Regions from separate parts of the Homo sapiens genome. Here region 1 is linked to region 2. Evidence: promoter capture Hi-C in human tissues and cell types (Jung and others, 2019). All regions are on one chromosome and are shown on one strand. Each heading gives the region's core, a stretch centred on a gene start or on the middle of the fragment in contact. The rest is flanking DNA. Distances are from core to core; before and after follow the strand shown.

Region 1 (6,273 bases), core at 2,233-4,732, 150 kb after region 2:
CATAGTATACAGAAGATAGGTGAAGAATCTACTCGAAAAGAAAAAAACCCCACCAAAATAAAAGCATTCCTCGGACTATTTCACCCTACAGAAAAACCTAAAGAAAAGAACTCAAAAAGCATGAGGGTGAGATAACAGGAGATGAAAACGGAGCTGACAAAGCTAAGGAAATACAGAGAGAAGCCTTAGCTGAGCACTTAAAATAGTTACTGTTCTCTCCTCTGCACTCTCTACCCCATTACTTTGTATCATTAACTAACATCCCCTGTTGTATTTTTTACTGTTTGTCTACCTTCCACTAGAACATAAGCTCTACTGGAGCAGTCAACTTGTTTACTGTCCCCTAACTTATCCCCCTGTGTCTCCAGACAGCTCTGACATAAGAGTGAACTCTTAAAATTGCTGAATAAATAAGGAAAAGATGAATAATTAAAGCAACAAGAAAATAGTAGATGAGAACAAATAAAAATGATCCAACATAAACGTAACTGGTACTTCAAAATGAAAGGTCAAACCATAGAACATAAATAAATGCAAAGATTTAACAGAAAAAATTTTCCTGATTCCAAGCAAAACTTTGGTCTGCCTGTCAGAAAGGCACAGACTCCAGAAAACTTGATATGGAAAGATAAATACAGATACATCTGGGTTACATGAACTAAAAAAAAAAACACCTTATGAGGAGAGATTACAAAGGTTAAGTAAGCCTGGCCTCAGACTTCTCCAAGATATTCAGTGAAAGAAAATGATGGAATAGCATCTTCCAAAAAGAAACAAACTGTGACCCAAGAATATTAATCCAGCCAGGTCATCATTTAAGAATAGTCAATAGGCTCATATGTTTAAACATGAGTCAAAAGAAAATGTAGCCAACCAATAAGTAAAAGGAGAAGCTGCAGTAAGACTGGTGATAGGCAATGAATCGACTTTTTTAAAAAACAGATCAAAGACTAAACAACCAGTAAGAAATATGTTTTCAAAAGATAACTATTATAAAACTTGGTAACACAAAAATAACATTGGAACAAACAAGAGAGAAAGGAGGAAACTCATAGGAAGGAATATGAGTGTTTATTTTCTTCCCTTTCTAAACAGAGTCTATTAAGTCAATAAACAGGTTTAAGTACATTAATTAATGTTACAAAGAAAACCACTAGAAGGACTAAAATAAGACTATAATAAGCAAAACTCTAGAGGTAGGAGGAGGGAGAAGTTAAAGAAACCATATTAGCGTAAAGTTTCCCATTTTCCAGAGCAGGAACTCCATAAATACTGAATAAATTTCCTAATTCATGAAAGAGGGTAATGATATAAACATATAAAGTAATTAAAGGTAACTACCAGAAGAACTGAAAAAAGACAATAAGCTTCCAATAAGCTTCCAAATCCAAAGAAGGAAAGTATGAATGTATGAGCACACACAAAGAAAAAAAGAATCTATATCGCAAAATAGGACTAAGAAAATACTACAAATTAGGAGGAAAAACATAATTAAGGCCAAAATATATCTGATATCAATAAATATTGTGTGAAAATTCACACAATATTTATTCATATCAGATATAAGATAGAATAAGAAAAAATAATATGAGATATAAAAAAGAGTAAGACTCACAAATTGGGTCAAGTGACAAACTATATTTTCCAAAGACAGCAGCAACAATATCTCCTCTTCCACAAAGTCTTCTAGCACCTTCTTATTCCTTATCAAGAGCAGAGCCTAATTCCCATTTCCTTGAATGTGAGTGGGCAGCAGAAGCGATGCTATGACATCTTAGCTAGATTGTAAAAGCTTGCGAGCTAGAACACCCCACAAGTGAAGTACTGGGCTGCCACGTAAGCAGTCCCACCACCATGAGGCCACCATGCCATGAAGAAGCCCAAACGAAGGCACAGGGAAAAACATGTGGAGAGGCCATGGGACCTCATGAAGAGGAGATGGCTCACAACCCCCATCATTCCAACTACTGTCTGACTACAACTACTCAAGACCCCAAGCCAGAATCTCCCAGCAGAGCCCTTCCCAAGATCCTGACCCATAGAAACTGTGAGATAATGGCTGTTGTTGCTCTAAGCCACTATGTTTTGGAGTGATTTGTTAGGCAGCAATAGGTTACCAACCATTATTTCCAGAAAAGACCACTAATAATCTAGAAAACTGGTGGGAAGGGGTTTTTTAGGATCTCTTCTCCAGTATTATAGAGAAAGGTAAAGTTGGGAAGCAAAACTTGGGAATTACATGATGAAGCTGCCTATTCAAGATAGGTCCCTAATGATAAGGACTCAGTTGTAGTTGTTGCTTCCTATGATTACCATCAGACATCTTAATGGATTATTTGAAAGTTCTACACTGATACTCACCAACCACTTTACTCTGAAGGAGAAGAGTGCACTAAAAGCAAATATCACCCACAGTACTGGACAGGCAATAAGTCCCAACCAAAAGATTCTTGATTCAGCCTCTGACACAGTTTTATTCTCTTGAGAGGACTCCTATAAAAGAACATAAATTCAATTATCATGTTGTGAAATTTATCAATAAAAAGTTCAACATGTTTAATAAAAAACATATTACCCACAAGTTCAAATATTAATACACACAGCCCAACTCCTAAGTTAGAACCCAAAAATACATGACTATCACTCTTGTAATTTTAGGAACTGATCTATATTAACTCAAGAATTTTGCATTTTCAGGGCAGGATGGATGGTTTACCACAACTCATGACAGTAAAGAGTGGTCTCTGATAGGATTCTATTCAATTCTTCTTGCACTTGTACTATTTATTCATAAGGAAGCTCTAAATGATACCTTTCCTACCAATGATCAAGGAAATCACAGTTATAATCATTCTGGAGACTAAAAGGTCAAATTAGGGTCCAGAGGAAAAAAAAAAAACGGAATCAAGGGATTCTGGACAATAATCAAAATGTCTTAGCAATACCCAGGAAGTTACAAGGGTGGTAAGTTGTTTCCAAGGTAGATTCTATAATATAAAAGAATACAGGCTCATTGAACACAGTGCCACTTTCTTAAAATAACTTGTCAATACCCTTGGTGTACTGTCGCCAAGAATTTGGTCCTCTGCTTCCAAAACTTATTTCCACAAGGAAAGTGAATATTCACTATAGTGTAGCAGGCTAACCCAAAACAGACCAGGATCCCCAGGGCTCCTGAAGGCAGAAGCTTAGGAATAGAGTGCTCCGATCAGATATTCTATCCAGCTGCACTCCTCCTCCTTTTTCCTGCCCAGAAATGAAAGACGACCACAGGAGCAAAGACAGAACAAGATGTTAAAAGCAGTTATCTGCTGAGCATAGAGGGATTTATGGAGACACTAACAAAGGCAACACAGAGATCTTTTATCAGCAATCCCTGACAGGCAGCTTAGCACACTGTATGAACTCAGACCCAGTGTCTTCCCTCAAAGGATTCTGTTCTGTATATTGCTTGTTTCTGGTCTGAACTAGACAGAAAAATGCATTAAATTCTAGAAGGCCATCTCCTTTAGTGCTGACATGCCAAGTGATTTGGTATAGTGTTTTTAATTCTGAATACTTCATCTTCCAGTATTTAAATATAGTCTACAAATAATTTAGCTGATAACATTATTTAAAACAAAAAAGGCACTTTACCTTTCTAGATTCAAACACCCAATGGCTCTTTCCATCTTCATCAATGTGATTCCACCAACGTAGGCCAACCATTAGTCTACCTGTGACATTCTGGTGAAGATTAATATAAACAGGCACATTTTAAAAGCATTATTTAAAGATCTATCACAAGCTCCTATCTTAGTGTAACATTTCACAAACAAAAACCTTCAGCTTTACCTCCATAATATCCAGTTAGCAAAGACTACTATGTATCAGGCCTGGCTAAGTGATTAAGTAAAATGGTAATGGCAGGACTAATAGGGGTAGAGGTGACAGAGCAAGCAACAAGTCCACCCATAAACATTACACCTTCTCTTTTCCCTCATGAACAATTTGCCCTTTCTCCAGTTCCCTAATTTTCCCTAAACCCCTTGCTATTTGGTTACTGTGACCTACTTTACATCCTGACTATAGCTACATGTATTTTACAACTACATATCCCTGAAAATGATTATAGACACTGGCCTTCAGTCAGTCTCTCAAGTTACCAAGCTCTTTTCCTACTTACTAAGGTAATAAATTAGTTTGATAGCTTTCCTAATCTTTATTTACTCAACAAATATTTACTGAGCATCTACTATGTGCTGGTAATACAACAGTGACTAACAGATACCAACTCCTTCCTCAGGGAAAGAGGTGAAGAGAGGCAGACAACCAATGCACAAATGTACCATTACCAACTGAGTTAAGTCCTGCAAGGGAAAAGTGTGAGATGCTTGAAGAGTATAACAGGGAAATTGGATCTAGTCTGGGTATCAGAAAATGACTCTCTGAGGAGTCAACATTTGGAATGAAATATAAAAGATAAATAAGAATCAACAGTACCATGGATGTTTAATTAATGGTGTCCACTAATAGATTCAGTGGTTCTGTGAACCTCGATGGGTTAAAAAAAAATGTTACCTTCATTTTCATTAACCTCTGGCTAAAATTTAGCATATCTTTAAATTATGAATGTAGACAACAAACTATGAATGTAGGTAAAATTAAAAACACCCTGACACAATAGAAATCACAGGCATTTTTTTATTTTGTACTATATTTGCTGCAGTTACCTCAAAATATTGTAGTTTTGTTTTTTGTTTGGTTTTGTTTTTTGTTTTTGAGACAGAGTTTCGCTCTTGTTGCCCAGGCTGGCATGCAACGGGGCGATCTCAGCTCACCGCAACCTCTGCCTCCCGGGTTCAAACGATTCTCCTGCCTCAGCCTCCCAAGTAGCAGGGATTACAGGCATGCGCCATCATGCCCAGCTAATTTTGTATTTTTAGTAGAGATGGGGTTTCTCCATGTTGGTCAGGCTGGTCTCGAACTCCCAACCTCAGTGATTCACCCGCCTTGGCCTCCCAAAGTGCTGGGATTACAGGCGTAAGCCACCACGCACGGCCTCAAAATACTATTTATGCTCACCACTGCTTTGAAAGTAGTTAGCATATCATTAAATTATGAATGTAGACAACAAACTATGAATATAGGTAAAATTAAAAACACCCTGACACAATAGAAACCACAGACATTTTTCATTTTGTACTATACTTGCTGCAGTTATCTTAACATATTGTTTACGCTCACCACTGCTTTGAAAGTAGTTATTAGACCTGCCACTAGATCTTACCATTAATAAATTCATAAAGTATAGTAGTCCTCCCTTATCTGCAGGGGATACATTCCAAGACCCCCAGCAGATGCCTCAAATTGTGGTTAATACCAAACCTTATATATGCTATATTTTTTCCTGTAAGTACATACCTATGATAATGCTTAATTTATAAATAATGCACAGTAAGAGATTAATAAGAAATAAAAATAGAACAATTATAACAACATAATCTAATAAAAGTTATGTGAATGTAGTTCTCTCTCCTCACACAGTATCTTACTGTTTAGTGTAGTGTATAGCAGTAACTGAAACCGCAGAAAGTGAAACCTCAGATAATGGGGGAACTACTACACATATAACTCAATCAGAAATTTACTTTTCTAATATTTTTAAATTATATTTCAATATAAGTGACTTCCTTTGAAATCTTATGTACTTTATATATGTGAAAACTTATTCATGAGTCTATGAAAGGGACCCATGGCATAAAAAGATTAGGAATCCCTGTATGAAGGTGATGTGGGAGGAAGAAGAGCATTCCAGATAGAGCAGCAGGCACTGATGCCCTAATGAAGAAAGTACAATCTATGGATTTATGGGACTTGGTCATTAATTGGATATGGAGTAGGAAGGAGGCAACTGATACATTTCTGGTTTGCTCAAGTAAAAAAATAGTGATTCCAGGCCCCACGAAAGGGAACACTCAAAGAAGAAGAGCTTTTGGGGAGTGGAAGATGACAAGTAGTATTTTACACATGTTAAGATATAAGTTGCCTGGCCAGGCATGGTGGCTCACTTGGGTTCAAGACCAGCCTGGCTAACATAGTGAAACCCTGACTCTACTAAAAATACAAAAATTCGCTAGGCATGGTGGTGCATGCCTGTAGTCTCAGCTATCTAGGAGGGTGAGGCAGGAGAATGGCTTGAACCCCAGGAGGCAGAGGTTGCAGTGAGCCGAGATCACACCACTGCATTCCAGCTTGGGTGACAAAGCAAGATTTTGTCTCAAAAAAAAAAAA
Region 2 (4,965 bases), core at 1,992-4,491:
CAGCTCTATGAAGCAGGTGCCATGTTACCAATGAGGAAACTGATGGTCTCAGAGATGAAAACACACCCATCTAGCAAGTGGTGCAGCCTGGATTTCAACTCAGGCTCAATCGCAGGGCTGGTCATTTCACATCAGGACACGAGGGGAGCTGGGCTTAGGACAGAGCTACACATGGATGGAGGCTGAGAGAACCAAAGTGAGGTGTAGCTGTATCCTTAATAATGCTGTGAATCCCTGGATCATACTGCACCTGAAGCCCTTTCTATTGCTGGACACAATTACATTTCCTGAATTCTTTTTTTTTTTTTTTTTTTTTTTTTGATACAGTGTTTCACTCTTTTGCCCATGCTGGAGTGCAGTGGCGTGATCTCAGCTCATTGCGACCTCCGCCTTCCGGTTTCAAGCAATTCTCCTGCCTCAGCCTCCTGAGTAGCTGGGATTACAGGCGCCTGGCACCACGCCTGGCTAATTTTTGTATTATCACAAAATAATACAAAAGTAGAGACGGGCTTTCACCATGCTGGCCAGGCTGGTCTCAAACTCCTGACCTCGTGATCCACCCGCCTAGGCCTCCCAAAGTGCTGGGATTACAGGCATGAGCCACTGCGCCCGGCCTACATTTCCTATATTCTTAGAGCTCATTTGAAAGCAGTTTTCAGTCACTTGTTAACAGATACTTTAATGAATGCAAAGGCTCAGCTCAAAGTCCCCTCCTCCAGGAACATCTCTTCCTTAAAGGCCTCCCCCCGGCCCCCGCCAGACTCTCCCAGGCCCACCATCTAAACATCTTTGCAGGGCTGCACCTGCCTGGCTTGCTCTGTCTGCTTCTCCCTGTGGGATGCATCTCCAGCATCCTCCCTGTCTGGTTCTGATCTTTTCTGGATGTGCTCACTGCTCTCTTGCCAGCCGCTCCCAGCTGGGCCAGCCTAGCCTGCTAGGAGGGACAGGGCAGAACTCCTACAGCCCTACTTCCAGGGGCACCAGCCTGCAAACAGCAAGCTGACTCACTAGGAGAGGTGGGTCATGGGCAACAAGGGCTGGTGGCCCAAGTCACTGGGCTACAAAGGGTCTGGCCTCAGGTGCCCAGAACATCTTTCTTAGACGTGCTAGCCAGGACAGCCTTGTCTCCCCTCCTCTTTCCCTCTTCAGATCTTGCCTGGCCCTTACCTCCCCTCATCCAGAAACCCTCCACTGTCTGTTCTGCCCCACGTGGGCACCTCCTCCTCTGAATTCTAGCCACCAACTGTCACAGGAATATAGCACGTTACAGTTTGCAACAGATTTTCACTTCCATTGGACCCTTGCTCCTTGGAACAGCCCTGAGATGTGGGCTGCACAGAAACCCGCATTGCGTGTTTGAGGAAACTGAAGCCCACAGAGATTAAGTGACTTAAGTACACAGAGCAGAGCCGAGACTTGAACTCGGCTTTGCCGATGGCCAGCACTGGGCTACTTGTGAGTTAATATTTAATCACATACAGGTTGAGGAGCCGTTATCCGAAATATTTGAAACCAGAAAAGTTTTGGATTTCGGACTCTTTCAGATTTGGAGATACTTACAGAATACCTGCCAGTTGAACATCCCCAACCCAAAACTCTAAAATCTGAGATGCTCCAATGAGCATTTGCTTTGAGCATCATGTTGGTGTTCAAAATGTTCCAGATTTTGGGTTTCAGATTTTTGAAATCCAACCTGTGATAATTAATTTTAATGACTGCGGCTGCTACTCTTATAATCACCACTGCTACAACTGCCACCACCACCACCACTGCTACCACTGTAGAACCAATGGCAGCAGCAAGGTCTGGTCCTGTGTGGGCCCCTTGATAGCAGACCTCACCCCAGGTAGGTGGTGTCTCCATATAACAGATCAGAACACTGAGGCCCAGGAAGCTGAGGGGACGTGACCAGTCTCCTGTTTGCCAGGCCTTCGTGCTTAGGCCAGGGGTTATGGAAGATAAGAACGGGTACTCGGCCGGGCGCGGTGGCTCACGCCTGTAATTCTAGCACTTTGGGAGGCCGAGGCGGGCAAATCATGAGGTCAGGAGTTCGAGACTAGCCTGGCCAACACGGTAAAACTCTGTCTCTACTAAAAATACAAAACATTACCTGGGTGTGGTAGTGGACGCCTGTAATCCCAGCTACTCAGGAGGCTGAGGCAGAATTGTTTGAACCCAGGAGGTGGAGGTTGCAGTGAGCCGAGATAGTGCCACTGCACTCCAGCCCAGGTGACAGTGCTAGACTCCGTCTCAGTTAAAAAAAAAAAAAAAAAAAAAGAAGGGGTACTCATTCTCCCCAGGAGACTGTCAGGGCTCAGGGATGCCAGGCTGGGGACCTCTGGGGCTTAAGAAGTGGAGCCCAACATCCCCAGGCGCTAAGCGTGGAGCAGGTGACCTGAACCAGGCTGTGTCCACCTTCCCTCAGGAAGGCCTCCACGATAGACCAGAGGAGCCCTTCCCTTGCTGCAGGGCCAGAGCCTCGGTTTCTCCATCTGCACATGAAACAGCCTGTCCCCAGGGGCCCCGCTGCCCCTGGAATCTGTGTGTGGGGTCAGATCTCTGCTCATTTCTCACTGTTATGAAGGGAGAAAGAACCGGCTTATGATCTAGGGCTAGGCCACAGGACATAAATCCCCAGGGAGCTTGTTCAAAATAAAGACCCCCAGTTCCCAGGGCCCTCCCTGCCTCCGGATTCTGATCCAGCAGCTCTGGGGTGCAGCCAGGGAATCCCGGGGAGCCTGTTGTTCAAGCAGACAGGAGTCACTGACACCATGGAGACTGGGACCAGGAGGCTGATGGGCCACACCCAAGGACTCCAGCTGGGCAGCAGCACAAAAGCCCAGTTACCTGTTAGAGAGAATTTCCTCCTCCTCACTTTGCAGATGGAGACGCCATTACCCAAAGAGAGAAACGGGCTTGGTCAAGGTCTCCAAGCAAGTCTACCCCAGGCTGGGAGGAGGACCACAAGGATCACTAGGCCACCAGCTGGGACCAATGCTGACACCACAGGGACATGCTGGACCCCGGTTCCCACCCCAAGCACCAACCCTGAGAGCCCACTTGGCCAACACCACCACAGGTCCCCTTACCCATATGCCCACGGCCACATTCAGAGCAAAATACACAGTGATGACGATGATGTCAGCCACGCTCAGCTGCGTCCCGGGAGTGTGGAGGTCGCTGGTGGAGTTGGCGGCCATGGCTGTCCTGCCGCAGGCACTAGGTATGAGCCCGAGGGACTGAGGGGCAAACCAGGTCAGAAAGGGTTTCCTGGCAGGGAGCTCATTGATCATTAAACCAAGCGGACAGTGGCATCTCCAGCCCATGATGTGGCTGCATGCAGGGCAGCTGCCTCACCATGCAGTTCAGCTTCCTCACCCCATGGTGGGGTGCAGATCCCAGAGCGCAGGAGTCAGGGAGCCTGGGAGAAGCAAGTGGGAGGAGGAAAGGAAGGAGCCTCCTTGAACTCGGAGGGGGCTTGGGGAAAATGAACCGCATTTAGTGGACCCGGAGGCAGCCCAAATAGTCCCAGAAAGGCTGGGTTGCTTAATGGGTGGCTTCACCTATATCTAATTTGTATAAGAAGCATAGAGCGTAGGGACAACCGCCTCACCTCTGAAGATACTGCCGTGGCGGGCAGCCATGTCCTCCCTTGGCCATCGGGCTGTGAGTGGACTGAGCAGGGCTTGGGAGGGGGACACCTGCATTATGGCTCACGTCCAGCCAACACAGCCCAGGCTCAGAGGCAGCCCCATGTCGGACAATAAAGTCCTGCTTCCAGCGTTTCTGCTTTCTTTTTCTAGACCCGTGAAACAGTCCCAGGCCCCTCAACTTGACCATGCATTCGGCCCCCACCCCGGGCAATGTCTGCCTGGGACCACAGAGGGACCCAATATCTGTCACACACCAAGGACCATGCGTGGCTGTTCTGCACATGATCCCATTTCACGGACCATGCGTGGCTGTTCCGCACATGATCCCATTTCACGCTCACAGCAGCCACGCAGAGTAGGCAATGTCTCATCCTAGTCAAGGAAATGGCCATCCGCCATTACGCAGCCATTGAAGGCGCAGAGTAGGATTCAGTGCAGATGTGGCCCCACCGTCTCCACCGCAGTGACAGTGACGAGTTCCATCTGGATTCCATCAGAGTGGGACGCTCGCTCACTAATTCTATCAGTGTACACAGCAGGGCTGGCCGGCAGTCTCACGCCTCTGCTCAGTGACATGACTCGTGACTTTGCAAAGCATTTGCAGTTTAACCAGACATGCAGCACTTCCAGAAGTGTTAATGAGTGAGCGGCTGCCACCAGGAACACGCTGGCCTGCAAACCCAGCCAGCCTGTTACTCAATAACCCTGAGGTGCGGGTAAAAATTAATCCCCTCGGCCAGGAGCAGTGGCTCATGCCCTTGGGAGGCTCATGCCTTTGGGAGGCCAAGGCGGGTGGATCACCTGAGATCAGGAGTTTGAGACCAGCCTGGCCAACATGGCAAAACCTCGTCTCTACTAAAAATACAAAAATTAGCCAGACATGGTGGTACGCACCTGTAATCCCAGCTACTTGGGAGGCTGAGGCAGGAGAATTGCTTGAACTCAGGAGGTAGAGATTGCAGTGAGCCAAGACTGCGCCATTGCAGTCCAGCCTGGGCAACAGAGGGAGACTCCATCTCACAAAACAAACAACAACAACAACAAAAAACAATTAATAGTCCTCACATACAGGACTAGGCAGAAGAAGGAAGGGAAAAAGGAAGTCACTGCTGAGAGAACCCTCAGGCAGGCTCAACTGCCTGCCGTCTCCCCTTGCCTCTGGCCAGCGAGCCTCAGATGGTGTTTACTTCCCAAGCCATTGCTTGCAATGTGTTTTAAAACAAAAGGCTGCTTTGCACTGATCAGGAGGACCCAGCTGGGAGGATCCAGACTTACCAAAACTATCCCATTAATAGAGTAGTTGTACCAGCAG

The links. Contacts are between HindIII fragments. The study calls those that stand out against the background at their distance.
Region 1: a contact is called between a fragment that was not itself captured here and the fragment with the promoter of SLC5A10 in region 2, in 3 of the 25 tissues and cell types used here (dorsolateral prefrontal cortex, liver and spleen).

What each region holds. Positions count from the first base shown.
Region 1 is chr17:18,795,032-18,801,304 of GRCh38, reverse strand. It overlaps TVP23B (trans-golgi network vesicle protein 23 homolog B), which reads right to left. Exons shown (of 7, transcript NM_016078.6): 4 at 3,637-3,726; 5 at 2,362-2,493. Among named protein-coding and RNA genes, the nearest start is that of TVP23B, 17 kb to the right of the region's middle. The HindIII fragment of the contact is 3,794 bases long and covers 1,586-5,379 here.
Region 2 is chr17:18,950,441-18,955,405 of GRCh38, reverse strand. It overlaps SLC5A10 (solute carrier family 5 member 10), which reads right to left and starts at 3,241. Exons shown (of 15, transcript NM_001042450.4): 1 at 3,090-3,241. The coding sequence starts at 3,200. The HindIII fragment of the contact is 13,514 bases long and covers 1-4,965 here.